Regions from separate parts of the Homo sapiens genome. Here region 2 is linked to region 1. Evidence: promoter capture Hi-C in 16 types of primary human blood cells and fetal thymus (Javierre and others, 2016). All regions are on one chromosome and are shown on one strand. The core of a region is centred on a gene start or on the middle of the fragment in contact, and the rest is flanking DNA. Distances in the headings are between cores, read along the strand shown.

Region 1 (3,702 bases), core at 820-3,319:
ATGAACCCTGTCATTTTGAGTTTTTATGGAGGCTTCACTACATAGGCATAATTGATTAAACCCTTTGGCCACTGGTGATCAACTTAATCTTCAGCCCCTCTCTCACCTCCCTAAGCAGTTAGGGGGTGGGGATGAAAGTCCCAACCTTCTAATAATTCCTTGACCTTTCTGGTAACCAGCCCCCATCCTGAAGCTACTAGGAGCAGCCAGCTAGCTAAGACAAAATTCTTAGTCAATTCATTAGCATACAAAAAGGCAAAATGGGGCCCGTAATCCCAGCACTTTGGGAGGCCGATGCAGGAGGACTGCTTGAGCCTAGGGGTTCCAGAGATACACAGGAGATCAATCAGACCAAAGTGAAGACTGGAAAGAAACTGATTTCTACCTCAAAAGAAAAAGCTTTTTATTTATTTATTTTTTTTGAGGTAGAAACTGAGGTAGAACTGTGAACTTTATATTTAAACAAGCTTTGAAAAAGAAAAACTTACTCTTCTGAAATGGCAAACCACTGGTACATATACTACTTTTTGATCAAAGGCAATATCAAATCATGCTGTTAAAGCAAGATCATCTGTTCCCCTTTCAATGCCAATTACATATATACATTGACAATAACTTTTTCTTTTAAAAGCTTTGTTTTGGTTAACTACAGATCCATGGCATGAGAAAGAACCCTAGTCAAGATTCTGTCTTAAAAGGAGGCTGCTGGATTATAGAAAGTTCATGAGCACAGAGACTGTCTCTCTCTTGCTCTCCTAGGCCTAGCCCAGCGTTTGACACATAGGAAGACTTGAATGAATGAATGACAAAAAACTGTTAAGCAGGGATCAAGAAAGCTGAACCATGAAAAATTAATTTCTCATATAAATAGGATTATTTAGCCTAAGCTTAAGAGCATCTTTAAGGATCATTTTTCTCATGCAAGACTATTATAACCATCATTAAAAAAAAGAGACAACATAAACTGGAGCACAATCCATAGTAAAACCAAAAGCTTAATTCTCAACATTTGAGAACTTTGAGAATCAGAAAAAGGATTTCAATCTATGAAACATAAAATCTGGTGATGGAGAAAATGGCTGTCAATCTCACCTAACCTAGGGAAAGAAAGAAAATGTAACCATGAGTTTGAATGCACAAGTGACAACACATCAAACTTTTACCAGCCCCTAGAATTATGCTTCTTTTAAACCAAAGAATAGCAAATACCATTAGCACACTGCATTCCATGAGTAAGTTAATTTATAAGAAACCTATTTGAAATGACTGCCCAGTACTCACAAAACCTCCCTAGCACCCACATACACATTTATTTATTTCAAAATGACATTATAGGCTCCTTGATTGCGAAATTCACCCACAATCCATCACGGTCAGCTACCTATTTACTTTCCAGTGTGTTGGGGGAAAAATATGAGGAAGATTTCTTTCCCCAAATCTACGTGAAGAAAACGAAGTTATCAAGGCTTTGTAACAGAAAAAAAGAAAACAAATTACCCATGCATGGGACAGAAAAACCTCATCTGGTCACGTTGTGGCTTAACACTTGGACAATATGTAGCTTAGGTTAAGTTTTCTATCCCCAACCCCACCTACAAACTCTAGGAATGGGCGGTATTGTTGCGAGACCCCGGACTCGACCTCATGCCACTGAAAAGGATGACAGGTCGGGACTTGCCCCGGAGGCAGGAAGAGAATCTCTGGCGGGTCGCGTAGCCCGCCTCGCCGTCCCCGCCTCCAGCCAGCTCCCCTGGCCGCGGCGACCCTTCTCGTCCTCCCACCTCCACCTCCACCTCCTCACCTCTCGGCCTGGCTCACGCGTTTCCCATCACTCTGTCAGCTCCTGCCACCGCGCCTTCTTCCCTTTCGGTTTTACTTTAACTTCCCACGCCGGGTGAGGAGCTGAGCGCAGGGCCAAAGATGCGAGCGGGCAGCTGTATCGCCGCGCCCCGTCCGCCCTCCAAGCCGCGCTTGCCGGGGTCGCGCCCAGTCACAGGGAACCGCGTGTGAGGACCATCAGTCAGACAGACAGACGCAAAGACGCACAGACCCGGCGAGGAGGGACAGAGTGGAGCTGGCGCCGGCCTACACGTCACCGCCCCGCTGCAGCGCCAACGTCGGCACGTCGACTCGTCGACTCCGGGCCCTCTGCCCCGCCCGCGTGCGCGCGCCGCTCCGCCTCCCGCCTCCAGCCTCTAGTCCGCTGGGTTCGGAGGAGCAGAGGCGGAAGGTCCCGGCGGCGGCGAGGATGCGCCCCAGGGCGGGAGCGGGACGCTCCACTTTACCCTGGCTGCCCGCAACGGGCCAGGCCTGCCGTCTCTACCTCTCTACCTGTGAGTTTTTTCCCTGCATTTACTTCAGTCTGCCGCGTCTTCTCCCCGCCCTTCTCTGTAAGGTAAATATGTGGAGGAAATAATTCCTATTAAAGGTAAAGGAAAGGAGAGCAATTTGAATGAAGAAACAGGTAGTTGCTATCGTCGTTTTCAGCCAAAGCCCTCTGGCTGCTAGAGAGTATACATGGTTCTCTGGTGTCAAGGCCTGTTTTCCATAAGCTTTCTGGATTCTCAGCTTAGTTCCCTCAAAGTGATCTCTGCAAGTCGGCTCTTCGGTCAGAAGACCTCCTCCAAAAACAGAAAGCCCAAAGATTCCCTAACTCGATTGAAAAGATAGGAAGATACGAAGAAAAACTAACCTAAAGAATTGTGTGGTTTATCTGCAAAGAGTTCTAGACTAAAAGCCAACAATGCAAAGATAGTATGAGTTAATATGTTTGTTGTGGCTCTCTTCTGCCATTCCCGCTTCCTCAAGGTAATGTGCCCCGATGCCTGGTAGAACTGTTTTGTAGAGGCAGCCAATAGTGATCCAGTTATTGTCTTTACTGGTCAGACCACCTCTGAAGTGCTGTGTTCAGCATTTGAAGACTTTAATCAAGCTGGCATTATATCAGGGAAGAGCAAAATGATGACGAGAACTCAAAAACAGGGCAAGTGAAGAAGGATTGATTAAACCTTCCAGGACTCACCTAGAAGAGAGAAAACTACTGGACTCTCTCCAAATATGAAATGACCTATCATGTGAAGTTGATTTGTTTCATGTGATGCAAACTTCAGGGAACAGATTTAAGATCCTGAAAAGAAGATGCCCTTGTAGCACGACCCAAAGAATTGCCTACCTTAGCATGTGTGAATACCTCAACCACAGAATTTTGCTTCAAGGAGATTCTGAAGCTCACTTAATAGGGACTTGGTACAGGGGAGCCACACATCAACAGAATAATTAGTTGATGGTTTTGTTAAAGATATTTCCAGTCTTGAGATTACATGTGTCTTTGGTCCTGGACTTCATAGAGTTTACAAGTTAGTTCATGAGACAAGACAAATGCATCACAAAAATAAATAATGCAAGGAGGCCAAGTGATAATGAGAGGTGCTGATAAGTGCTAGGAATTCACATGACAGATTATTCCCATCACAGTTCCAGAGGCTTAAGGGAGAAGAGAGGAACTGAAAATAGACTACCTAGAACTGCCCTATCCATTGGGGTAGCCACCAGTTAAATACGTCTCTTGACATTTGAAATGTGGCTTGTCCAAACTGAGACATGCAATGAGTCCAAAATGTACACCAGATTTCAAAGACTTAGAAAACAAATGTAAAATATTGTAATTCTTATGTCGATTACATGTTGAAATAATATATAATG
Region 2 (3,702 bases), core at 728-3,227, about 17 Mb after region 1:
TTATTCTCTGTTCAATAAATTACCTGTGTGCTCTAGAGAGGCATACATCTTTGTCAGATTGGTAAATTTAAGTGCAGGGTTTTGTCAGAAAGGGAAGGCATAGGCCAGACAGTAACGCTTACAGGCTGATCTCTGATTGCCCTATCATCTTTCCTGCAGCCCGCAAGGAACATGATGACGCAGTAGCCTGTCATCACCAAATGATGATTTGCCCTATAGGGTAAAGTTTGATATATTCAGAGACTGACATTTATGGAACTTGCTAAAGAACTCAGCAGACCAATAGAAATCATGAGACTGTTAGGAGATGACACAATCCATGCCTAAACCAATGCAACCAGTTTTGCTTGGGGAAAAAAATAGGTGAAGCAAAAGTGGACATAAAGGCATTAAGCAACGTGGTGGATTGATGTACAGCCAGGTGATTCTTTTAAAGCAAGTATCTTTATCTTCCAGTAGGGAAGGAAAATGTATAGCTAAATTGTTTGACTTGATGACCGTGCCTACTAGTACAGACTATAATGTTGCCACATTTCCTTGTTTCTGCAAGTCCTGTGTTTAAATTGCTGATGTGATTCAGAAGTATCCTGTGTCATAGTTGCTAAAAGAAAAATGATTAGTAATTAAAAGGAAGAAGTAAGCTAAGCCAAGTTTTGGCTGAGAACTGAAAGGCACCTTAAGGAGCATTTTCAGTGAAAGGGCTTACAGGATTTTGTATCTTAACTGTAAAATCAGTTTTTTTGTTTGTTTTTTTTAAAAGAATAAGAAATATTCCTGAAATAAGAGACCTTCAATTAGTCCATTCTTGGTTTTGATTCGTTCATACATTCATTTACAGGTGACAGTTGGGGTCTGTTAAGTACCAGATACTCTTCCAGACATGGGAATGCAGCAGTGTACTCATGGAACTTAGATTTCAGTGGGAGTCTGACAAATAATATACGTGGGTAAATATGTGGTAATGTAAGTGCAATGAGGAAAAGTAAAGCAGAGAAGGGAAGATAGGAATGTTGAAAGTCAGTGGTGTAGGAAGGGGTACAGTTTTAAATAGGGAGGCCAAGGAGAGGCTCTTTGAATATAGACTTGAAAATATAGGCCATGTGGATATGTAAGAATCACTCAGAGGGAGTATAGACATGTAAGCTTTATTTAGTGTTTCTTTTTCAGTGGTTTTTTTTTTTTTTTTTTTTTGAGACGGAGTCTCGCTCTGTCACCCAGGCTGGAGTGCAGTGGTGTAATCTAGGCTCACTGCAACCTCCGTCTCCCAGATTCAAGTTCTCCTGTCTCAGCCTCCCCAAGTAGCTGGGACTACAGGTGATGCGCGCCACCCCGCCCTGCTAATTTTTGTATTTTCAGTAGAGACAGGGTTTTGCCATATTGGCCAGGCTGGTCTCAAACTCCTGACCTCAGGTGATCTGCCTGCCTCAGCCTCCCAAAGTGCTGGGATTACAGGTGTGAGCCACTGCGCCCGGCCATATTCAGTGTTTCTAAATAAATGTCTATTTAAGCTTATTTCTAGATAGATATTTAACTATGAAAAATCCTATTGACATACTCGTAAATGCCACTGGGATACAAGAAGTACAAGAAATGGTGTCTCTTAAAGAGTTTCCACTCAAGTAAGGATGTCCATTAAAAATTAACACAAGCTAATATAGAAATGCTAAGTGAATGGCAGATACTTTAAGGAGCGAAAAATGGAAAATTTCCCGGGTTACCTCCATATTTGTCTGGTAAGGAAGGGAGCAACACCTGAGCTGGACCTAGTCAAAAAGATAGAATTGGGATTGGCGTGAACAGTGTTCTCTGTGTGTGTGAATGGGGATTTCCCTAATGGCAGCATTCTCATTAGACTAGGTTCAGTAATAGCATTGAGTAGAGTGTTGGGAGCAGTGAATTTATGTAATGAACAGTTGGGAAATGAGGTAGGATGAAGGCTTGGACAGCTATTCTGGTTACCTACTGCTTTGTAGAAATCTACCCAAAGCATAGTGTTTTAAAACAACAATTTATATATTGACTTAGTTCAGTTGGGCAGTTTTTCCTTTGGGTCACTCATAGCTTTCATTCAGATAGAGTCTGGGACCCAAAGGTTTCTCCTTATGTCTGGTGCCTGGTTTTTGATGGCTGAAATAGATGGGGCAGGTTGGTCATCTGGCTTCACATGGTCTGGAGGTTGACTTCAGGGTAACCAGTTAACTAACTTCCCCCAGAACAAATGTTTCCAGAGACTTGGCCAAAGGCTGAAGCTGAAAGATGTCTTAGGACCTAACCTAGGAAATCATGCAGTGTTATTTTTGCTATGTTCTCTTGGTCAGAGAAGTCTCACATCTGTTCTGCATCAAGAAAGTGGAGAAATGGACTTCACCTCTCAATGAGAAAATGGCTTGTGTAGAAAGGTTGGGTGAGGATTTGAAGGGAGATGGACGGGCAGCCACTTTGAAGACAAGCTTACCACCTTACATTTTATTCTGTCCTACACCCCTTTGCTCTCAAATTTGTACTTAAATTCGTTCTAATTATGGTTGGATCTAGATAACAACATTTAATCCTTAGACTAAAAGATCTATTATATTGACCTTAATTTGACTGCCAGCAAACTGATCTTTTTGTTTTTCACTACCTGCAATATTTCTTGATTATAATAGAGTCTGCAAGTAATTCTTTCATCTTTCAAAAATTCAGGTTGTTCTCTCAGGACAGTGATCAGGAATTTTTTGAGTTCAGAATTCTAGCGAGATTTGGCTGTTCTGTCTATATGATTATAATTTAAGAAATGACCATAACTGGGATGGTACAAGAACCAGGGGTTGGGGTAAATGGATTTTATTGTTCTAGCCTTAGCAGTGTTGTTTGCCTGTGTCTCACATGCAGGTACACTTGGCTCCAAGTTATCTGGATATGTATTGTTATCTTAAGTGATGGAACTTGTTCTTATTTCCTGGCTTTATTGTGCCTTGCTGGGAACCTTGCTGTTGATTGGTATTTTTCAAAACCTGTCTGTGGACCATCTGTGAATTAGTCATTGGGGATGCTTATAAAAAATGCAGATTCAACACACTTAGTAATCAAACTTAATGAGGGAACTGGGACCTGGGCGTCTCTGTTTTTATCAAGCTACCTGTATGATACTTCTGCACACTGAAGTTTAACCCTAACACAGATCAAAGGATACTCTGCTACTTGCCTTACATTAGATTATTTATATTTCATGTTCCTTTTCATGATTGAGGATAATTTGGGGTAAGCCTTAGGATTATTTGCTGTAAATTGGAATGATCCAGAATAAGGCATTGCCTTCTGTGTGAGAATTCAACAGTAAGACAACAAATTTTTTTTGTGTGCTGCTCTTTCTAGTGCTATTTCCTTAGTTTATTTAAATCGAAGCTAGGTTGCTTTTGAAATGGTTTTTGGGTACAGGTTTCTCACAGTAACATTTTAAAAGTCTGCCCAGTGTATCCTATCTTTTCAACCTGTTTCTCAATGCTTTGCATACCTTTTGCTATGTCTGTATTTAGGTATTTAATGTTCCAGTTTCCTGGAACTCCCTCTTCTCCTTTTTCTGGCAAATGGCTGTATGCCTACCAAGAGGCTATTGTTCATCTTTTCCGAGTCAATCCTAAATATCACCTTGTATATTTTTGCCTTTCTTGACTATTCACTCCGTTCCCTATCTTACTATATCTCTGAATCTCCTCAGAA

The links. Contacts are between HindIII fragments. The CHiCAGO score rates a contact against its expected background, and 5 or more counts as called.
Region 2: a contact is called between a fragment that was not itself captured here and the fragment with the promoter of ASCC3 in region 1, in 1 of 17 cell types (non-activated CD4 T cells). The highest score is 10.6, in non-activated CD4 T cells.

What each region holds. Positions count from the first base shown.
Region 1 is chr6:100,879,260-100,882,961 of GRCh38, forward strand. It overlaps ASCC3 (activating signal cointegrator 1 complex subunit 3), which reads right to left and starts at 2,070. Exons shown (of 42, transcript NM_006828.4): 1 at 1,802-2,070. It overlaps LOC107984041 (a long non-coding RNA gene), which reads left to right and starts at 2,198. Exons shown (of 8, transcript XR_007059692.1): 1 at 2,198-2,395. RefSeq lists an enhancer at 1,914-2,033. The HindIII fragment of the contact is 1,558 bases long and covers 993-2,550 here.
Region 2 is chr6:117,677,508-117,681,209 of GRCh38, forward strand. The region is part of intron 1 of NUS1 (NUS1 dehydrodolichyl diphosphate synthase subunit); the gene reads left to right. Among named protein-coding and RNA genes, the nearest start is that of NUS1, 3.9 kb to the left of the region's middle. The HindIII fragment of the contact is 942 bases long and covers 1,507-2,448 here.